3 separate regions of the Homo sapiens genome follow, and all the other regions are linked to region 1. The links are contacts of gene promoters, found by promoter capture Hi-C in blood cells and fetal thymus (Javierre and others, 2016). All regions are on one chromosome and are shown on one strand. Each heading gives the region's core, a stretch centred on a gene start or on the middle of the fragment in contact. The rest is flanking DNA. Distances are from core to core; before and after follow the strand shown. Region 1 holds the start of ACSM1 (acyl-CoA synthetase medium chain family member 1). Region 2 overlaps DNAH3 (dynein axonemal heavy chain 3). Region 3 overlaps PDILT (protein disulfide isomerase like, testis expressed).

Region 1 (2,861 bases), core at 211-2,710:
TCAGACGTATCTTGGTTGTTAAGTGATGCATGTCTCTATCTCTATCACTATCTCTGTCTCTATCTCTATCTCCGTCTCTGTCTCTGTTTCGATATCTATTTCCATCCACATCTGTCTTCAGATTTGACTTCACAAAGCTTAGTTTGTCTATTTCTCACCGTGCTGGACATAGTAAGTGCTCAACAAAAAGTTAGATTCTTCCCTTCTTTGTCATAATTCAGAAAACTGAGTGATGAAAGTCAGAAAGAGAAAAGCCAGTGTGCCCACAAATTATCTGAGTTATAGAAAAATGTATTTTTTCTTTCTCAAGTATTTACTATAGATGTACCATGTACAGTTTTAGATACTATTGGAGATTAATTAAACTGAAAGAGTTCCTACCCTGTTAGAGCATATCATTAAAGCACATCCTATGAAATCATTTTAAAGAACAATTTTCTGAACTGCTTAAAGTGCATTCTGAAAGCAATTTGACATGGTAGCTTTGAGAGGCAGCTGGGCTCCCCACTGTATTCCCAGATACATAGTGCCTTGAACAGCTCCTGCAACTAAGCTTTGACTTCACAGGACTTGGGACTGATAAAGCTATTTAATGAAGCAACATACTTACTGTGTTATAGGGTATCCCAGAGTTACAGAGCCAGGGCTAGATGTTTGTCTCTGTTGTCTAGCAGCTGGGTCTTTGGTGCTGTTCATGTCTCTGAACTTAAGCGCACAGTAGTAATACCTTCTTCCCAGCTCCCCATAAGGATTAGTGTGATAATTTACTTGCTGGCACTGAATGAAGTGCACGGTAAGGACTCAATAAATGTTGAGGTACCTTTTAACTCCCAGCAAATTCTGAAGCCAACCCCCTCCCCATTAGATGTTAACCATTTTTTTTGAAACTGTCACCTGGACTGGAGTGCAGTGGTGTGATCATAGCTCACTGCAGCCTCAATCTCCTGGGCTACAGTCATCCTCCTGCCTCAGCCTTTCAAGTACCTGGGACCACAGGCATGTATTACTATGCTTGGATAATTTTTTTTAGAAGGCATTCACTTTATAGAAAGTGAGCCAACTTCTGCATAGATAGAAAAGATTTCCTTCAAACATTCATCTCTGACTTTGTGCCTGTCTCCCACGGCTCACCACATTCAGAGCTGCCTGACACTAAACCAGTCCCCATTTACATGCCAGCCACTGTGCTAAACATATTACATGTACGTTCCTATTTATTCCTCTCACCCAATATCACCATTGTCATTTTGCCTCTAAAATGAAGTGCCAAGAAGTTAAGTGACTTGCCCAAGGTCACTCAACTTAAAAGTAGCATTGCCAGAACTTAAAATTGGATTACACACACACACACACACACACACACACACACACACACACACACACACAGATAGAAGCTGACCTTCACCTCTGTCTTACCTGGTACTGTTTAGGACGTAGCTGAACTAGGTCCCTGGTAGGTATGGAAAAGGAGGTTGAGCTCTCTTTTGTAGGTTCAGTTCTCTCTGATCAGGTGATCCGCAGGATTGTGCACCCAGCAGAACTTGGCTTCTGGCCACAGCGAAGGGGGACCTTGAACAGAGAACTTGTTAGGAATTGGGTAATTCAGTAGGGGGAGGAGATGCTCAGGTAAAATAGGACAGAAACAATTACAGGCCTCCACGGAGAGATAATCACTTAGAAAACAAACCATGTGGGCCGGGCGCAGTGGCTCGCGCCTGTAATCCCAGCACATTGGGAGGCCGAGGCGGGCGGATCACGAGGTCAGGAGATGGAGACCATCCTGGCTAACACGGTGAAACCCCGTCTCTACTAAAAATACAAAAAATTAGCCGGGTGTGGTGGTGGGCGCCTGTAGTCCCAGCTACTCGGGAGGCTGAGGCAGGAGAATGGCGTGAACACGGGAGGCGGAGCTTGCAGTGAGCCGAGATCATGCCACTGCACTCCAGCCTGGGAGACAGAGACTCTGTCTCAAAAAAAAAAAAAAAAAGAAAAACAAACCACGTATACGAAGTCACCTCCAATTCCGGTGGCATGGCTAGGGGTGTGAATGAACTAGATCCAATGGTGCATTTTCACTAGTTCTCTGTGGCTAACCTGCTCCCCCTTCCCAGCCCTACATCACCATAGTCTCCCTTAAATGACAGCTGAGAGTCAGTGTAGCCTAATGGATAAGAGCCTGGGCTCTGGAGGTCTGGAGGCAGAAAGGTCTGAGTTTGAGCCTTAGGTCTGCCACTTAACCTCCATGTCATCTTTGTGGACCTTCTTGCTCTGGGCCTCACCTCCCTTAATTGGTTTTCGGTTGCTTTTGAGACAGAATCTCATGCTGTCACCCAGGCTGGAATGCAATGGCATGGTCTTGGCTCACTGCAACCTCCGCCTCCCAGGTTTAATTGAGTCTCTTGCCTCAGCCTCCCAAGTAGCTGGGATTATAGGTGCCCGCCACCACACCCAGTTAATTTTTGTATTTTTAATAGAGACAGGGTTTCATCATGTTGGCCAGGGTGGTCTTGAGCTCTTGACCTCAGGTGATCTGCCCGCCTCAGCCTCCTAAAGTGCTGGGATTACAGGCATGAGCCACAGCACCCAACACCTACCTTATTTGTAAAATAGGAATGATAACAACAATACCTACCTCCCAGGGTGTTTTCTTTGCTTCTTCATTTGTTTGTTAGAACTAGATGAAATAATTTATAAAAAGCATGTAGCACACGGTGCTGGGCATAGTCGATGTTGGCTCTTTTTATTCACTTGGGATTCTCAGAGGAACAATTTGGTATCCTGGTAAAATGCAGGGTCTTTGGAATCCCAAAGTCTTGAGCTTAATTAAGTCCAACCTCAGGCACTCACAAGAAAGCTCTTGG
Region 2 (2,861 bases), core at 191-2,690, 390 kb after region 1:
TACAAAAATTAGCTGGGCACGGTGGCAGGTGCCTGCAATCCCAGCTACTTGGGAGGCTGAGGCAAAAGAACAGCTTGAACCGGGAGGTGGAGGCAGGAATCAGCCGAGATCGCACCACTGCACTCCAGCCTGGGCAACAGAGTGAGACTCCATCTCAAAAAAAAAAAAAAATTAACACAAATGGCTCACGTTATATTTGTACTAGTCACAGAGGGCCAGTTTTGGCATCTATCAGTGCAGTTTCTCCCTAAGATCAAATGTTACCTTGTTCCATCTTGCTTTTTTTTTAACAGTTAAATTTTTATTATTTTTTAAATTTTTATTATTTTTTAAATTTTTCTTTTTCCATACTTTTTTTTTTTTGAGAGAGAGTCTCGCTCTGTCACCCAGGCTGGAGTGCCATGGCGCAATCTCGGCTCACTGCAACCTCTGTCTCCTGGGTCCAATGATTTTCCTGCCTCAGCCTCCCAAGTAGTTGGGATTACAGGCGCATGGCACCACGCCCGGCTAATTTTTGTATTTTTAGTAGAAATGGGGTTTCGCCATGTTGGCCAGACTGCTCTCGAACTCCTGACCTCAGGTGATTTGTCTGCCTCGGCCTCCCAAAGTGTTGGGATTACAGGCGTGAGCCACTGCACCTGGCCAGACCAGGAGATTTTTTTATAATGACTCAGAAAGCACAAAAGCAAGGAACCCAGAAGTAGTTACCGTTGAAATAACGGTCTTGGAAGACCAAGAGTGTTATAGGCACATGATGAAAAAATAACCAAAATAACACTAATTGCAAATAGGACATCAGAAATGCACCTTAGTGTAGTGATCCAAAAAGCCTTTTAGATTTGTGGCTTCCATTTCGTTTGAAACCACAGTAGCAACCCCTTTGCTGTTATCTATAAAGTCTGTGCCCCAAACGTAAGGCTCTAACTTTTTCTACCTACGTTCTGTAAATGACCAGAACCCCCAGCACAGCCATGGCCTTGCTTCAGAAGATCCAGCTTCTAGACTTGAGTGCTACAGATGGCTCATCCTTCAGATCCCCCTGCCAGAGCTAGCATCTGTGGCAGTGGATCTCCTAAGTTAGGCATCAGGGCAGAGAATGACATCCCCAGGCCTGGGGCTGTCCCCAGGGCGGCCTGTGGTGTGACCTACATACACTGCAGGGAGGAATGGGCTCTGCCTAGGGGCAGTCCGGAGAGTATCTAGGGGCCTTTGTCCTTTCTGAACTTGCCTCTTAACTGCTCAGCCCACTGGGCTTCCATTTAGGGGCTCACTCCTTGGGAGCCACTGTCCTAGGGCTGTGCTCCCCGGCCCTCTCTCACTGTGGTTTACTGCCCCCTACTGCCCGCTCCCTTCCTCTGACCGGACCTTTTTTGCCTTTTTGACTTTTCCAGGCTGAGTCAAACAGTGTAGAAAAATTCCAATCCCCTTTCCCACCACCAACTAGCCATCTGACAATTCATCTCTCCAAGTCTCAGTTTTCCAATCCGTGAAATGGAGATAATAATAATCTCCACTTCAAAGGCCTGTTTTAAGGGTGAAATGTGAGAATCCAAATAAAGTATACAACACAGTACCCAGCACCATAGCTGGTACTCAGTACATTTTCAATATCATCATTATTATTATGGTTAGAATTTTTTTACTTTATTTATTTATTTATTTATTTATTGAGACAGGGTCTTTCTCTGTTGCCCAGGCTAGACTGCAGTGGCGCAATCACAGCTCACTGCAGCCTCAACCTCCCAGGCTCAAGTGATGCTCCCACCTTAGCTTCCCTAGCAGCTGGGACTACAGGCATGTGCCACCACGCCCGGCTAATTTTTTTGTATTTCTTGATGGGGTTTTGCAGTGTTGGCCCGGGCTGGTTCTCAGACTCCTGGGCTCAAGCGATCCACTTGCCTCGGCCTCTCAAAGTCCTGGGATTATAGGCGTGAGCCACGGCACCTGACTGGGATTTTTTAAATTTAAATTAATTAATTTTTTAAATAGATGGGTCACACTATGTTGCCCAGGTTGGCCTCAAGCTCCTGGCCTCAAGTGATCCTCCTGTCTCGGCCTCCTAAAGTGCTGAGATTAGTGGTGTGAGCTACCTCGCTTGGCCTGGTTGGGATTTTCTGAGTGCCCACATACAAGAATAGCATCATAGAGGAAGCACCAGGTGGAGCAGATGGCTTTCCCGGCCCCGCGGCATGTTCTCCAAATGCCATCGACAAGGACACTCTTGATAGTGCCATCTCATAGAGAAACCTGGCACTACCAGAGGCCACCTGTCCCACCTAAGCTCCCTAACCCCCCCATCCCCCCGATGCAGGTCAAAGTCCTAGTTAGGCTGGGTCCGTAGAGAGAGGCACCCCGTGAGCACCAGCTGACAGCAACTCCTCCTCTGCGGATCCCTCTGCTGGGGCGTTTCAAAACCAGAAGTCATGGCCAGGCACTGTGGCTCACGCCTGTAATCCCAGCACTTTAGGAGGCCAAGGCAGGAGGATCACTTGAGGCCAGGAATTTGAGACCAGCCTGGGCAACATAGTAAGACCCCCCCCATCTCTATTTTAAAAATCAATTAATTAAAATTACAATTAAAAAATATCCCAGCCAGGCACGGTGGCTCATGCCTATAATCCCAGAACTTTGGGAGGTTGAGGCGGGTGGATCACTTGAGGTCAGGAGTTCAAGACCAGCCTGGCCAACATGGTGAAACCCCATCTCTACTAAAAATACAAAAATTAGCAGGGCATGGTGGCACGTGCCTGCAATCCCAGCTACTCAGGAGACTGAGGCAGGAGAACTGCTTGAATGTAGTGAGCCGAGATCATGTCACTGCACTCCAGCCTGGGTGACACAGTGAGATTCCACCTCAAAAA
Region 3 (2,861 bases), core at 170-2,669, 320 kb before region 1:
CACATAGCTCTGTAACCTTGGGAAAATCCTATTATCTTCCTGCAGCCCCCATTCCTCAGCTGAGATCCAAATGCCCTTTAAGGTCATCCACTCCTGACTGCCATTTCTCAGCTATAGCATGGTTGGTGTCAAGCACACAAAAGTCTTAGCTTCCAAAATTAAGACACATATACTATATCTGGGAAGACAAATTGGTGAGCCAGAAGGTACAGAAGGCTATACACAGGTGAACGTGTGTTTTTCTAGGATTATCAGTTTCACATGATGGAAAGTAATGTAAAATATTATATATTTGTATCTGCTATAGAACATTAAAACTGAACATTTTAAATAAGTTTATGAGCTAAGCATGGTGGCCTATGCCTATTTCCCAGCACTTTGGGAGACTAACGCAGGAGAATCACTTGGGGCCAGGAGTTTGGGACCAGTCTGGGCAACATAGCGAGACACTCAGCTCTACAAAAAACAAAAGAAAATTAGCCAGGCATGGTGGCATGTGTCTGTAGTCCCGGCTACTTGGGAGGCTGAGGCAGAAGGATTGCTTGAGCCCAGGAGTTCAAGGCTGCAGTGAGCTACAATCAGCCTGGGAGACAGAGTGAGACCTTGTCTCTAAAATAAATAAATAAATTTATGAGATAAAGCAATATTCGTTGTGAGTAGCTTTGAACTACATCCACAGACTGTTATTCATTTACGCACTCATTTATTTCTTCCCTCATTTATTTACTTGGCAAATATGTACCGAGTGCTTACTATCAAGTGCTGTACTCAGCCCTGGAGATATAAGGATGAACAGAAACAAACACATTACCACCATTTCACAGCTCTCATTCTGTCGAGGAAGACAACAATCAAATAAATGCATGAACAAGGGCATCATTACACCCAAAGGAAATGTTTGAAATCAAAGTTCTGCGAGTCTGTAGCAAAGATGCCTGACTTAGACTGTGAAGTCAAGGAGGACTTCCTGGAGGAAATTATGGATGAGCTGTAAAATAAAGAATGCACTGGGCCAGGCGCAGTGGCTCATGCCTGTAATCCCAGCACTTTGGGAGGCCGAGGAGGGCGGATCACAAGGTCAGGAGATCGAGACAATCCTGGCTAACACAGTGAAACCCCATCTCTACTAAAAATACAAAAAATTATCCAGGCATGGTGGCACACGCCTGTAATCCCAGCTACTTGGGAGGCTGAGGCAGGAGAATCGCTTGAACCCAGGAGGTGGAGGTTGCAGTGAGCCAAGTTCGCACCACCGCACTCCTGCGCGGGAGATAGGGCAAGACTCTGTCTTTAAAAAGAAAAAAAAAAAGAAAGAAAGAAAAGAATGCTCTGGAGTTAACTAGGAGGCATTAAGGAGAGGGAAAGTCTTCTAGGAGAAACAGCCTATACAAAGTCCTGCAGCAGGACAAATTGCTACCTGAGGCTGGATGAATGCACCCTGAGCTACTAAATCAACTGCAAAGGCTCTACCTTCGTTATATTTGTTTTATTTCATGAGAACATGAAGGCTTTTCAAAAACTTATAATAAAGTATATTTACATGCAGAAAGGTGCATAAATGATAATGTATGGTTAGATGGATTTTTACAAAACGAACACACTTGTGTGACTACAACCCAAATCGAGAACTAGAACATCACCAGATCCTCAGCAGTCCCTGTTGTGCCCACTCCCAGCCTCTACTCCCCTCAATCCAAAAGTAACCACCACTCTAACTACTTCTTCTTCTCCTTCTTCTCCTTCTTGTTCTTCTTCTGCTTCCTCTTCCTCTTCTTCTCCTTCTTCTTCTTTTTATTTTACCTTAAGTTCTGGGATACATGTGTAGAACATGCAGGTCTGTTACATAGGTATACATGTGCCACGGTGCTTTGCTGTACCTATCAACCCATCACCTAGGCTTTAAGCCCCGCGTGCATTAGGTATTTGTCCTAATGCTCTCCCTTCCCTCGCCCTCCACTCCCAGACAGGCCCCAATGTGTGATGTTCCCCTCCCTGTGTCCATGTGTTCTCATTGTTCAACTCCCACTTATGAGTGAGTGTGTTTGGTTTTCTGTTCCTGTGTTAGTTTGCTGAGAATGATGACTTCCAGCTTCATCCATGTCCCCGCAAAGGACACGATCTCATTCCTTTTTATGGCTTTGTAGTATTCCATTGCCACCTTAACTTGTAACAGATTACATTAGTCTGCCTGTTCCTGAACTTCATATAAATGTTCTTGGCTCTGGTTTCATTATGTTTGTGAGATTCAGCCACAGTTTTTCATGTACTTGAAGATTCATTTCCACTGCTGTGAATATCCCACAACTTATTTGTCCATTCTCTGCTAATGGGCATTTAGTTGCTCTCATTTTAGGGCATTTTTTTTTTTTGAGACAGTTTATCCTTCTGTCACCCAGGCTAGAGTGCAGTGGTGTAGTCGTGGCTTACTGCAGCCTCGATCTCCCAGGCTCAAGCCATCCTCCCACCTCAGCCCCCTGAGTAGCTGGGACTACAGGCATGTACCACCACACCTGGCTAATTTTTATTTTTTGAGACAGAGTCTTGCTCTGTTGCCCAGGCTGGAGTGTAAGGGCTCAATCTTGGCTCACCGTACCTCTGCCTCCCGGGTTCCAGTGATTCTCCTGGCTCAGCCTCCCGAATAGCTGGGACTACAGGCACGTGCCACCACACCCCACTAATTTTTTAGTATCAGTAGAGACAGGGTTTCACCATGTTGGCCAGGCTGGTCTCGAACTCCAGGTGATCCTCCCGCCTCAGCCTCCCAAAGTGCTGGGATTACAGGCATGAGCCACCACGCCCAGCCCACACCTGGCTAATTTTTAAGCAATTTTTAGTAGAGACGAGGTTTTGCTATGTTGCCC

The links. Contacts are between HindIII fragments. The CHiCAGO score rates a contact against its expected background, and 5 or more counts as called.
Region 2: a contact is called between a fragment that was not itself captured here and the fragment with the promoter of ACSM1 in region 1, in 1 of 17 cell types (fetal thymus). The highest score is 5.1, in fetal thymus.
Region 3: a contact is called between a fragment that was not itself captured here and the fragment with the promoter of ACSM1 in region 1, in 1 of 17 cell types (naive B cells). The highest score is 5.5, in naive B cells.

Annotation. Positions count from the first base shown.
Region 1 is chr16:20,696,220-20,699,080 of GRCh38, forward strand. It overlaps ACSM1 (acyl-CoA synthetase medium chain family member 1), which reads right to left and starts at 1,461. Exons shown (of 14, transcript NM_001318890.3): 1 at 1,417-1,461. It also overlaps a transcript of ACSM3 not described here. The HindIII fragment of the contact is 2,330 bases long and covers 552-2,861 here.
Region 2 is chr16:21,082,672-21,085,532 of GRCh38, forward strand. The region is part of intron 19 of DNAH3 (dynein axonemal heavy chain 3); the gene reads right to left. Among named protein-coding and RNA genes, the nearest start is that of DNAH3, 67 kb to the right of the region's middle. The HindIII fragment of the contact is 5,288 bases long and covers 1-2,861 here.
Region 3 is chr16:20,376,663-20,379,523 of GRCh38, forward strand. All of the region lies in intron 3 of PDILT (protein disulfide isomerase like, testis expressed), which reads right to left. Among named protein-coding and RNA genes, the nearest start is that of UMOD, 25 kb to the left of the region's middle. The HindIII fragment of the contact is 9,970 bases long and covers 1-2,861 here.